Regions from separate parts of the Homo sapiens genome. Here region 2 is linked to region 1. The links are contacts of gene promoters, found by promoter capture Hi-C in blood cells and fetal thymus (Javierre and others, 2016). All regions are on one chromosome and are shown on one strand. The core of a region is centred on a gene start or on the middle of the fragment in contact, and the rest is flanking DNA. Distances in the headings are between cores, read along the strand shown. Region 1 holds the start of IFNA8 (interferon alpha 8). Region 2 has its middle 4.2 kb from the start of MTAP.

Region 1 (7,144 bases), core at 4,179-6,678:
AATTACATTATTGTTTTCTGAGCCAAAAAAGCAATGTCATCTCAGATTTTTTAACCAGCTAGAAAAATCTGAAACCAAAATCAGTAGATTATATCAAAATTATATTGTGTATTACAAATTTATAAAAAATATTTGCAGAAAAGAACACGTATTAGTTTCTTAAGATGATCATTTATTATTTTATTTATCTGCTTAAATCTTTGAGGGGTATTTGCTGTTTCCAAAGTTGAAAATTTAATTTTTTATGGAAAAGTTTCTTCAGGATAGTATTTTAAAAGACTTTGTCAGTTAAGTTGATGAGAGCTGCTGTAACAGATAAATAGAAAACAATTAGTAATTAGATCAATATGCAAATTTACCTTTCCTTCCTATAAAAGCTCAATGCAGGACTTCCTGCTCAGATGACTCGGGTTGGCTATTCAGGGATCTGAGTACCTTTTATTTTGTGGCTTTGCTATCTTCAACATATAACCCCAAATGTGGCTGTGGTGCTTCAATCTATTTTAGTCAATTGCAAAGGTTAAACTGTGTGGTACATCACGTGGAGTTGTTTTCACACGTTACAGGGCAAGATACACATCTTGCCAAGATGTTACAGGGCAAGAATCTCTTCCAACCAAATTAACTTGGCCTGGATTTATTCTCACAGGATACCAAGATGCAAAGAAGTTGTGAAAGGGAGTCCAATTGGGTGACTAGTAGGAAAAGAAGGCAAGTTCTTTGAATAAGATTAATCTTCATTTTTATAATATTTGTACAAATGCTATTTTTGGAGGAAAAACAACCAATGTTTTTGCTCACATATTCTATTAAAAACTCTCTTCCAAAATCTGATTTCACAATTCAAACGCAGGGAAGTGGACACAGATGTCATTTATTAGAGTTTATGGCATCATTGACTCTTTGAAAGAAAGGGTTAAACTGGTTCCCAAAGCCATTGGCTAAAGTTGAAAAAAGACCAAGAGTATGGGATAAGGCCTTGGAACACATTGTAAAATTGAAATTGTTTCCTTATTGTCTGAGGAGACAAGGAAACTATGACAGGTATCTCTGCAGGTACTTGAAGACCACTGAAAGAAAAGTGGAGAGGGAATTTTCCATTTGTCCAAGTCATTTTTTCTCATTCAGATATTCTAATTATTAAAAATACAAACTTGAAAATGATTCTACAAGCAAGTGGCTGTTCTTTCTTTGAATATTCCACATAATTTTCAATGATAACTTCCAATGAAGAACCTTGAAGAATTTACAAATTATCTTTTGATGTATTTTCCTTTCAAATTATGTATCTAATATGTATTGGTAATATTCTTTCCACTGGTTTTATAGTGATTACTCTTTTTCATGAATATTGGCTGAGCTCCTGAAATGATAGGGACTGGGCCAAGATGCCAGGGAAAAAGACTAGATAAGATGACGTGTCTGCCCATAAGTATCTTATGGAGTCCTGATAAAATATTCTAAAGAGAAAATAGGTCAGATCACTAAAGGCAACATCTCAGACAGCAAAAAAAGAGAAAATTATAACCATGCCTAAGGGAGAATAAGAACACTACCAGGCAAAAACATCTGACCAAGGACTCAAAATCCAAAATCACGGTTTTTTCACCTGAAGTAGCACTTTGAATATTACATGCCAAATTTTGGAAATCAAACAGAAATGGACCTCACTATCACATGGAAAATGGATGGAGATAACAAGAAGCAAATGGTCATTCATCTATTTTTTGTACAAGGAGAATCTTAAAAAATCACTGGATAAGGCGACATAATTATCACATTATTTAAGACACACTTAAAAAAATGGAAGGCCAAACGGAAGGAGTAAAGGCATAGTTTGCTCCAATTCTAGGCCTGTTTTTAGCAAGTATCTTTCCACCTATGCAAACACGTTATTTTTTTCCAACCCCATTTCTTTAGTTCTCTCCATATATTGCCCATCATGTTTGCCCGGTTTCTCAAAACAAGTGGTAAAATTAACTCAGCAGCAAACTCTGCTGGCCTGCAACATAAAAGGCATCAACCAGCTGGCAAGTCAGGTGACTCAGAGACTTTGGTATCACAGTCCTCCTCCTATAATACACTGGACTCTCCTCATTTCTCCAGAAGACCTTCCATTCCCACTTTTAATCCTTTTAGTGAGCCCTTCTAGATGTGGTCTCCCTGAGCTCTGAGCCTTAGTTCATTGGTTTAGTTCTGATTTAGCTCATGTCTCTAGCTTGTCATTGCTTAGTCTTAAACTTGGGCTAAGATAGAAATCTAAGGCCTTACGGATATTTGAATAAAAGGATAGAAATATGCAGGTTTTTACGGAGTTGTTTATGGATATATTACTAGGGTGAACAAAGAGTTTTGCAACTACATTCAAGTTTATGAATATACATTCTCAAAAAAACAAAACTAGTATATAACATGTAAATAAATTGGGGCCCATCTTTATTATAATGTAACATATCAGGCATAAACAAATAGGGCTTTTCAGTGAGGGAGAGGGTGAAGGAGCTGAAAAGAAAGGCCGTGACCTTCTTTATGTAGAACTGTACTAAGAAAACATTGACCGGGGTCTAGAAACCAGCTCTGGGTCTTATGGCCAGAAATAATTCCCAGGGAACATGTAAGAAATGAGGATTTAGAGTCAGATGTTTTGGGTTCCAACTGTAGCTCCACAACTCAATAGCTCCCTGTGCTTCTGGGTTTTCCTTTTGTAAAAAAGGACAACAGTACAACCTGTCAGTGTCTGCTTTGGTCACTGATATCTCTAGCAACTAAGTAGGGATGGGCATATAGTAGATGTTCAATAAAAATGAAAATGAGGGTATTTCTCATTGAATGAAGTGAAAATAGTTTTTGTAAGTGCTAAGAACAATATCTGATTGATAGCAAACATGATAAAATTTAGCAACTTTTTATTCTTCTTATTAGTGTTATCATTATTGTCCTTTTAAGTCAAGATAAGTTTCCTTTGAGATCATCTATTCCCTGGCTTCTTGTTAGATAGATATATTAGTCAGAGTTCTCCAGAGGGACAGAACTAAGAAGATATGTTTATATATAAGAGGGAGTTTATTAAGGAGAATTGACTCACACGGTCACAAGGTAAAGTCCCACCATAGGCTGTCTGCAGGTTGAGGAGCAAGGAAGCCAGTGGTGGATCAGTCCGTGTCCCAAAACCTCCCAAGTAGAGAAGTCAACAGTGCAGCCTTTAGTCTGTGGCCAAAGGCCTGAGACCCCCTTCCAAATCACTGGTGTAAGTCCAAGAGTTCAAAAGCTGAAGAACTTGGAGTCTGATTTCAAAGGCAGGAAGCATCCATCAGAAAGATGAAGGCCAGAATACTCAGCAAGTCTCCTCTTCCATCTTCTCCTCCCTACTTAATTCTAGCCATGCTGGCAGCTGATTAGATGGTGCCCACAGTGACTGAGTGTGGGTCTGCCTCTCGCAGTTCACTGACTCAAATTTTAATCTCCTTTGGCAATACCCTCACAGACACACCTAGGAACAACACTTTGCATCCTTCAATTCAATCAGGATAACACTCAATGTTAACCATCACAACAGATAACATGCAATATACTGATCTTCTGAGTTTATCTGTCTACTAGTGGAGAACTTGAGATAATTATACTTGTCCATTCTACAGACAGAATATTGTGCTCTTACAAATTTGCCTTTCTGGTGCACAGTGTCTTATGTTTGGTTCATCACCCTCAACTGTCTAGTAAGGCTGAATTCACTAAAGCTGAAAACATCCCCTTGGACCAGTAATGATTACTTTTCTTTGAGCTCCTGCCCATTTGCTACCTTTGTTCTACATCTCTTGCACCATTTTGCTTCTGCTCTTCCTCACCCCTTAATGTCCATCTAATCTGGGCTGAATATCCAAGTTATATTTTGTTAGTTGTTTTTCTCCTTTGGGATGTTACTTCCATTCTTATGTTTTTATCACATTTAGTTATACATTTGTTTTCTTTTTGCTCTCATTTATTGGGATACAAAAAGCAACAACTTTTGCTTTCTGTGAAAAAGGAAATGAGAAAGATATCTGGTATCCTGCATGCTATGTACAACAATTGCACACCTCATTTACTTTATCATACTTAGATATTATTATTTACCTTAGGAAACAGATGGCTTTTTTTATTTTATAAGAATGAACTAGAATTGGGATGTCCCCAGGTTCTTTGGGAAATCTAAACATTAATGCAAAAATTGTTTTGAAAAATATAATTGATGTTTTCTCAATTGTGTATTCTCATTGGGGATGATATTGCTCCTAAGGGCACAAACCTTAGTTCTTGTGGTGTGAACAAATTGTAGATATTATATTCGTTTATGGCCCCTCAATGCAGAACTCTAAGACAACCCTATCCTGTAGTGTTTATTTTCTTTCACTTGGTTTTCTTATGTATTACATGAAAAGACTGATATTGAGTTCATGGAAGATACACAAAATGTATGTGAGATTAGTGTTGCAAACCAATGTGAAATAGATGGTTGTCACTGGTGGACTTTCCACTATGTGCTCAATCTCAGAGTCATACCATGTGATGTGGTCTCCATCGGCATATGAATGGGCTGCCATTGGCTGTCTTGGGTATGTAGCTTATGTTTGATCCTCAGTGCTTTCAAGTGTATTATACTCTTTTATACAAATGTTTTTATTTTATGATTAAATTGTATAAAACTTTTTCAAACATCACTACTTATAGGAAGTGCTGAAAAGAAAAATATGTTGACTATATCTGGATGAAAATCTAGCAGTTAGTGAAGGTAAAAATCATTTTCTATATGAAGCAAAGCTAAAAGTTAAGTATAATAAATTAAATGTTACAGGAATAATTTAATTTTAAATAGCCCCTTAGCAGTTTTGGGAGATTTTTAAGTATTTTTATTTTTTTGATATTACATATTTTATATAAGTATTTTTATTATATTGGTATTATATATTTTCATATATTATAACTTTGCATGTTTCACTTGATTCATTAATATTTATATAAGTATATATACTAGAAGTCACTCAGCAAATAACTTTTATAAAGTTAAATGCCAATAGCTTTTAAATTTAACTTTTGACATAAAATTTTTACTTATTCTTAATGCTGCATTGCATAAAAAAGTAAACTGTCCACTTTGTTTTCTAAAGCATGGATAGGAATGTAGTACATTCAAATATGTGCATAATATATCTGTGTTATTAAATTATCAGGAGGGGTTTACTTAGAAAAAAATTATCAAACAGGACTCTGGAGGTTGAGAAAGGGAATGCAGTAATGAAAAGAAAACTGGTTGAGAAACACTTTCCTAAGCCCATGTAGAGAGTACATAAAGGAAAGCAAAAACAGAAGTAGAAAAAAAAAATGCAGTAGCATTCAGAAAATGGAAACAAATATGTTCCCTATATAAGGCGGTGTACAAACCAAAGTCTTCAGAGACCCAGGTTAAGGGTCATCCATCTGAACCAGCTCAGCAGCATCCACAACATCTACAATGGCCTTGACTTTTTATTTACTGGTGGCCCTAGTGGTGCTCAGCTACAAGTCATTCAGCTCTCTGGGCTGTGATCTGCCTCAGACTCACAGCCTGGGTAACAGGAGGGCCTTGATACTCCTGGCACAAATGCGAAGAATCTCTCCTTTCTCCTGCCTGAAGGACAGACATGACTTTGAATTCCCCCAGGAGGAGTTTGATGATAAACAGTTCCAGAAGGCTCAAGCCATCTCTGTCCTCCATGAGATGATCCAGCAGACCTTCAACCTCTTCAGCACAAAGGACTCATCTGCTGCTTTGGATGAGACCCTTCTAGATGAATTCTACATCGAACTTGACCAGCAGCTGAATGACCTGGAGTCCTGTGTGATGCAGGAAGTGGGGGTGATAGAGTCTCCCCTGATGTACGAGGACTCCATCCTGGCTGTGAGGAAATACTTCCAAAGAATCACTCTATATCTGACAGAGAAGAAATACAGCTCTTGTGCCTGGGAGGTTGTCAGAGCAGAAATCATGAGATCCTTCTCTTTATCAATCAACTTGCAAAAAAGATTGAAGAGTAAGGAATGAGACCTGGTACAACACGGAAATGATTCTTATAGACTAATACAGCAGCTCACACTTCGACAAGTTGTGCTCTTTCAAAGACCCTTGTTTCTGCCAAAACCATGCTATGAATTGAATCAAATGTGTCAAGTGTTTTCAGGAGTGTTAAGCAACATCCTGTTCAGCTGTATGGGCACTAGTCCCTTACAGATGACCATGCTGATGGATCTATTCATCTATTTATTTAAATCTTTATTTAGTTAACTATCTATAGGGCTTAAATTAGTTTTGTTCATATTATATTATGTGAACTTTTACATTGTGAATTGTGTAACAAAAACATGTTCTTTATATTTATTATTTTGCCTTGTTTATTAAATTTTTACTATAGAAAAATTCTTTATTTATTCTTTAAAATTGAACTCCAACCCTGATTGTGCAAACTGATTAAAGAATGGATGGTACAATTCCTTTATCCATGCTTATTACATTCAAATTATAAGTAAAAATGAACTTTGTCTAAATTAGGTTGTATGTTGCCCTCAAGATATCCAGGTGAACATAACAAATACAATTCCCGCTCTCTCATATCTTTGTTTTTTGTTGGGAAAGAAAACTAAAAACAGTAATCATACTTAATATCAGTTATGTCTAATGCTATCATGAGAAGAAAGAACCAATGAATTTATCTCACCAGAAGGTAGACCAAGGCATGTGAGGAAATAAAAATAAACGCAGAGATATCCTCTATATGCTAACTGGTAGACATCTAAGTGAAAATGTGCACTACCAGTTGGATATATGAGTTTGCAATTAATAAGGAATGCAATTGCTAGAGGTTCATATGCAGTAACTGAAAGCCCAGAAATGGAGGATCTCATGTGGGGAGAGAGTGTCGAGGGAGAAAATGGCTTAAACGTGATTCTGAGGACCTTCCACACTTAAGAAAGGAAAGAGAAGAGCCACAAAGAAACAGATGGAAAGGCCACACATTAGAAGGACAACAGGAGAAAATACTAGGAAAAAAAGTTTAAGAAAATTAATATTCTTAAAAGAGTTATCAGTAGATTTACAGAAGATATACATTGAAACTGTCCACTACCTCGGGAA
Region 2 (6,857 bases), core at 4,311-6,810, 390 kb after region 1:
AACAAATCAAAGTACCTTATATAATCTGATAATATACGGAAACTTAGTCAAATTATTTTTGCCTTTTAGCTTAAAATCAAACTTAAAATCAATTGCATATTCAATTGGAATTATGAGGATAACCTCTGAAATTCTATGTATTTTATATACTGTATAAAGTTTTAAATAAGAAACAGAGTTTTTCTTTAAATTTAGCACAAATGCTATGTTTGCTTTATTTCGACATTTCTATATTTAATTCAAAACCATCCCATGGTGGAAAGGCACTTACCTAGAGTGACCATAAAATATATCTTCTAAACTGGGACACATTTGAGAGGGAAAAGGGGAACACTAAAAATAATTAAAACTTGTTAATTGATCTACAGTAGGTATAAACCAGGACTATCCCAGCCAAACCAGGCTGATGGTCACTCCTTCCTGATCCAAGTGTAGGGAATCACTTACAATTTGGACGAGCAGAGCTTTGTGGGTCAAGTGTTTATGCTCACAATATGGCTATATAGGTCAGAGATGTGAGTGAGACCAGACATAGGTCCTGAGAGCGATCTGCTTCCTCAGTGATTCCATCTGTGTTGCAGGGGGACCTCTGAGGTTTTTTATAACTGTTGCATCAACCAGGGACTTCAAGTTTACACCATCAAAGTGATTTTGTGATTAATTCTTTCTCACTTTCTTTATTGCCTGATTTGGGTAGATAGAAGTTACCACCACCATCATCATGGGTTGCTTTTAATGTTTCCAAGAGGTCACAACTCTAAAGTCACAGGGATGATCAGAGGATGGTGGAGCCAGATGGAAGAGACCACCTTCTAATAGCAAAGTCATTTTAATGGCATCTCATTGTCTTTGGCATTTCCTTCATCCTATTTTTCTGGCTCTGAAACAAATTTTTGTTTTTGCTCAGGATAAAGGTCATTAACAACTTCTTAATCAAATCTAATCGAATTTATTTTTTCTTAGTATTAATGGACCACATGATTCATTATCTAAATGACTGTCTCCTGCACTTCAATTTCCTTCATACCCAACTTCCCCGCTAACAACACACACACACCCCTCACCTCTCTAATTTCTTAGCTCATCCCTTAAGACTCACTTTCTCCAGGAAAACTCTAAAAGATGCCCAGCTCTGTGTTTTCACAGTATCTAAATTTACCCTTATCACATTGTTTTATAATATTTGACTTCTCTTTCTGACTCTTCTCACCAGATCAGGAGTTTCTTAAGGGCTCAGAGACTATATAGATCATACATCTTTCCCTCTTAGCACTAAGTTTAAGGACCAGAACATGATGGTGTAGAGAAACTTTCCCGTTGGAGACAGGGCATACAAATTTATTTCATGTGAACACATGGGAGCCTTCAGAATGAAGACCCAAAGATCCAGGGAAAATTTTCCATTTTTATGATTAGCTTTGTTAACCCAAAATATCTGAGACAGGTCTCAGTCACTTTCGAAAGATAATTTTGCCCAATGTTAAGGATGCATCGGTGACACAGCCTCAGGTCCACGATCGGCCTTCCACTGCATACACAATTTAGTCTGGTTCAGTGAATCTGCATTTTTACATAAACAATAGGGCAGAGAAAGCAATCAGATATGCATTTGTCTCAGGTGAGCCTCAGAGGGATTACTTTGAGTTCTGTCTGTCTTTCGTCCACAAGGAATTTCCTTGGGCAAATTGTGAGGGAGGTATGTAGCTTCTTATATTTGTAGCTATCTCTTCCAGGAATAAAACGGGAAGCAGGTTTGTCTAACATAGTTCCCGGCTTGACTTTTCCCTTGGCTTAGTCATTTTTTCCCTTGGCTTAATGATTTATATTCCACAGGTTCAACAAAGTATGGACAGCCATGTAGAAATATGATTGGACAAAAAGGGCATGACATACTGCTAACAGACTGAGTGGGGAAACCCAGCAAAGCTGTCTGTCTAGATTCTTCTTGGCCTCTCTGTGTAGGATTCCTTCCTTATGGGTATGAGTCAGGTCTCTCTCTGGAATGGGGGTATTATAACCCACAGTCAAACAAGATAGGTCAGACAATTTCTTCATGGCCATATTCGCATATCTTTTGGTTCTTACCCTTCACACAGAAAGGCAGAGGGAAGGTTAGAGAAATATGTTTAGGTTTTACGGCTGGCTTTAGGGAAAAGATCTTCTGGTTTCTATTATCCACCTTGGGGAAGAAGGATTCTAGTTTCTATGGTAGCATCAGGGGGATAATGGGCGTGAAAGACAGGCAGGAGAAGGTCAGAGAAAAACTTTCGCTTTTGAGGCTGCTTCTGAGGACTTCCTTTTTGGGGTGTTGTTATCTGAATCTCAACAGTGGAAAAAATAATAATTAATCAAGAGTTTAGACTTTGCAATTAGGACAGATTCAGGACTGAATCTCAATTACTTTAGTTATATAAATTTGAGAAGACTTCTTAAATGCTCTGAGCCTCATGTTCCTCATGCAATGATAGTGATAATAACACCAACACTTGTCCTTTCTCAAACATCACATCCTACCTAGAATTTAATTATCTCAATTTAAGGCTTAATACCTGTAAAATTCATAAACCCCTGGGTGAGGTAACATTTTAAGGTGATTTTGGCAACTTAACAGGTTTGATAGGTTTGATTGACATTTTGATGGGCTAGAGAGAGGGAAGTCCTGAAGATTCCAAACGGACAAGGAAGCTTTGGGGAGAGGCAAATAAGCAGAAAAGATGAAGTTACAGCAATTCAACTTCTCTCTCTCTCCTCCTCTGTAAAATGGAAATTACATTAATAGCAATGACATTAATATCTGTGAGGATTAAATGAAGAATATGTGGCTCTTAATAAATATTAGCTGTTTTGTTGTTGCTCTTGAAGATGCTCAGAAGACAAATATGACTTTGTTCCCAATTTGTTTTTAGGATTGTATGTACAGACAACATATGGATTTGCCAGAGAAGAAAAGCAATGCTTTTAGACTTATTTCCTGCCTTAAGTTTTTAAAGTGGAATAAAGAGCAGTGGGTCACATAAGAGCTCATTATATGGGTCTTTCATCATAGCTTTAGATCCTGACACGCTAAGCAGAGATTATGTTGCATCTGTGATATTAAAATACATCTGGGTATCTATTACTTTTTGGCCCTTTTCTATACAAAGCACAGAAGCTGAGAATCATGTCTCTTCAGATCAAGATTGAACATACTCTCTCTTTCACTGAGGGAGGTATAGGGTTCAGGGCTTAATCTTACACTTTGCTTATCCTATAACAGAAATAATAATACCTATTATTATTTATAATAGGTATGTGAAGATCCTGGGAGTCCAGGGTAGATGGCCATTCTGTTAACCTGAATATGCTTTTAATGTGCAGCATTAATCTAAGAAAAGTGAAAAAATGGTGAGATTTTACTTCAAAAAATCCAAATTATATGCAACTTAAGTCATCTTCAGTAGAGTTTCAGAAATGATAGGGGAGATACAATTTGAAGTGAACTTTGAAGACAAGACAAGGTGATTTGCAATGAAGGATATTTCTAGGGTAAAAGGGACTTTGAATAGAAGGAACGAATAAAGAAAACTGAAGGAGAACTTGATTCTATTGCAACAAGAAACATATGGCTAATTCCAACTATCTGGAGCATACCAACTTTAAAGCAGACTGTCAAAACTGACCCTACTTAACTCATTTTAAAGCATGGGGTTCTTCCCTCAACCAAAAACACAGATGCCAGGTTACACTTTATAACTGGACTCTCCACTTTCATTAAAGGTCATTATAAGGAATTGCCACCTAAAATGTGATGTAAATATTTTTTGAGAAACCTAGTATATCACTTGCAATTCCCTCTATAAAGTACCTGCAATAAATGCATTTTTAATATTAGATTTCAGTAATATTTTCTTCACTTGTGACATACTACTTATTTTGTTTTATCACTATGATAATGGGAGAATGGAACACTTCTCTTTGTTTTTTGTTCTTATTTCCTTAAAGTTTTAGAGTAATAGTCACATACTAACCTATAAGAAATTTAGAAAGGTTCAATTAGGCCTTCTATGACAAAAATATCTAAGTCTCTAGTTACTAAAATGTTAATGTTTATGTTGTATCATGGTCTATACTGCAGAGTCAGGGTAAAGACACATAGCTGTATTTTTTAGATCAATAATTTGTTCAGTTATTTACAATCAAGAGTGTTAAGAGAACTTGGATTGCAGACAAATCTCTTATACATTTATCCAATTATATTCAATGTTTTTTCAGAAGGGTACCTTAGGACTGGCCTGGTACATACTTGCATATCTTTTGCTTCTTAATAAACACTAGCCACTATTTTCTTTTCAGTACATTTTTTTTCCTTCTTGGGCAGGATAAAGAGAAGTTGATTATTCTGATAATTGCCTGTGGAGAAGTTTCTTTGGATACAATTTTATTAAGGGCATTGAGTCTCTGAGTTTAACTTTTTTCTTCCCAATGACCACACTGTGCACAACGATGATGTTGTGGATTTTGAACCTGAATTTATACCAGTTCAGACATCTTTGGCTTCTTCATGCTGGCATAGGCTTGCCTGGCTGAGAATCTGAAGATGCAATAATTTTTAAAATGTATTACTGTCATTATTATAATTAGTTTACTTATTGTTCCCCCAGATATTTTTTCAACAATGTTCTGCTAAATCTAGAGTGGCTGCTTGCTAATAGAACTTTAGCTTTTTCACAAAGCTTCCAATGTGGGAATCTAATCCATTGTCAAAAGTAGTGGCCAAAATGTCCCTACTCATTGTGGCTGTGATACAGGTGTATTGTAAAAAGATGTGATTCACACACCATTGGGGATCTCTAAGCACACCTCCATGTTATTTAGAATTTTTATTTTGGCCCAAATATCTACAAGGTAGTGGGGAGTTATGTGAGTTTCTTAGGCCATGACAACTTGCCAGCTTTAATACCTTCAGATGAGGATGGGTTACCAGCCAGCTTGGGCCCATTTTGTAGTACCCATCCAGGACAGACATACTGGTCAGGGGCAGAAATATAACAATTCAGTGGGAAAGCTGATATGGTTGGCTGAGGTGATACATTTCATGCATTTGTGTGAATACTTCCTCCTGAAGATTTGATGATTCTGGAATGGTTTGGAGACGACTTCAAAAATAACATGTTTAGTAAAAGGGAACTGTAGGACACTGAAGAACCACTGCTCAAGACCCAACATAGTCAGCTACTGGTGATAACCATTTCAGTACTTTGTTGGCTAGGACCTAGAAGTTGGGAAGACATTTATGAGAGATTATCAAAAAGGGAGAAGCTGTTGGAATCCTTATACTGTTTCATAATCAGAATTGTTGTAAGGTGACCTAGTTCTTGATAATTATCTTTAGAAAAGCAAGGGTACAGGTTAACAGAGGGGGATTTATAGGATAAGAACAGAAGGGCAGGGCAAAATCTATGTTCACAAATAGACCGACTCTCCTTGTCTTGTTGACATAGTAATCAAAAAGGGAGACCACTGAAAATTTTTGCGTATTCAAAATTATTGAAAATTTTGTCTTCCTTTTATTTTAGGGCTTGTTAAGAAAAAACATGACCCAAAATTTGGAAATAAGGCAAAAATATTACTGCCTACCTTTTCAAAGATACTGCACTAAAGAAAGCACTGTCCCACAGGACTGCCCAAGGGTTATCCAAGTCTGGGTAGCAAGGGGTCGTCTGATTCAGGCACTACCCTGAGCGGAAAACAATGGCCCAAGACCTCGACCAAACCCAGCTCTCCACCTGTTTTTGTACAGCTTTGAACTGAGAATGCTTTTTTACAATCTTAAGTGGTTGAGAAAATATCAAAAGTAGAATAATATTTTGTCACATGTAAGTTTACATGAAATTCAAACTTTAGAAGAATTTCCTCTTCACAGACATCACATCTTCAAGAGCAAATGCTTGAGCCCTAACCTGCAAGTTATAGTAGAAAAGTCCAGAAGTCCAGCCTGGTCCTCGCCAAGTTTCCAACTCCTATGCCTAGGGGTATTTTATGCTTACAGGATCTAACTTGGTTACAACGTCTAACTTTTAGCAGAGAGGCAGTGCTGAGTAGAAACTGGACTTGTTAACCATATCAAGTCACTTAAGTTGGCTAGGATCCCCTACTTAGGTAGCGGCCATAAAGCCTAGGGCATCCCTGTGCCCTCAATGGTTCACTTCTGAGTGGTGGGCTTCCTGCTCCTCAATAGAGCAATCGGCAGAAAGGCCCCTAGAAAGCTACATTGTCTTCATCCGCGAAGGATTCCCTGTCTCCTATTCCTCAAAGGAGCACCCGGATTCTACTTTCATTCTTCTTTTGCCATTGCATTTTATAACTTAAAAGAAATAGATGATTGTAACAGAAGAAAGAAAACTTTACATTGTGAGAAAATTTAGACCTAAAGCTTATAGTAATGTGAGGACGAAAGTCTATACTGTTTAAGTAAATAGGTTCTATGAGCAGCATCCAGGCTAACATCACACAGTGGTATTTTGAATTAAATTGTACTTGTGTTTTGTTTCCGTGTTTTGCTGCTGTAAGGAAAGAGGAAAGCATCCCCTTTCTCGGCCCTCCTCCCACGTCCAGGCTAATTTGCAGCATTTCTACATCTCAGAGTCCACCCTTAAGATCCTTGCCACCCATTATTTTGTTTCAGAACGCTTAATCCATCAAGGAAGGTTAAATTGGATTACCCCAGTAGGGAAGGGACGGGGGCTGTAAGCATGAGGGATTATCCCTGTAAAGGGCTCGTGGTGTGTGTGTGTGTGCGTCCTGCTAGTGTTGAATGACGGAGACCTGAGTTTGGATTCTGAATCCAGGTGTATTCGATGCCGCTCCGGCGTAGAACG

What was found. Contacts are between HindIII fragments. The CHiCAGO score rates a contact against its expected background, and 5 or more counts as called.
Region 2: a fragment that was not itself captured here is called in contact with the fragment with the promoter of IFNA8 in region 1 in 1 of 17 cell types (naive CD8 T cells); the score reaches 6.1 in naive CD8 T cells.

What each region holds. Positions count from the first base shown.
Region 1 is chr9:21,403,689-21,410,832 of GRCh38, forward strand. It overlaps IFNA8 (interferon alpha 8), which reads left to right and starts at 5,429. Exons shown (of 1, transcript NM_002170.4): 1 at 5,429-6,497. The coding sequence starts at 5,489. The coding sequence ends at 6,058. The HindIII fragment of the contact is 19,531 bases long and covers 1-7,144 here.
Region 2 is chr9:21,795,050-21,801,906 of GRCh38, forward strand. No RefSeq gene overlaps it. Among named protein-coding and RNA genes, the nearest start is that of MTAP, 4.2 kb to the right of the region's middle. RefSeq lists an enhancer at 6,466-6,857. The HindIII fragment of the contact is 1,700 bases long and covers 4,711-6,410 here.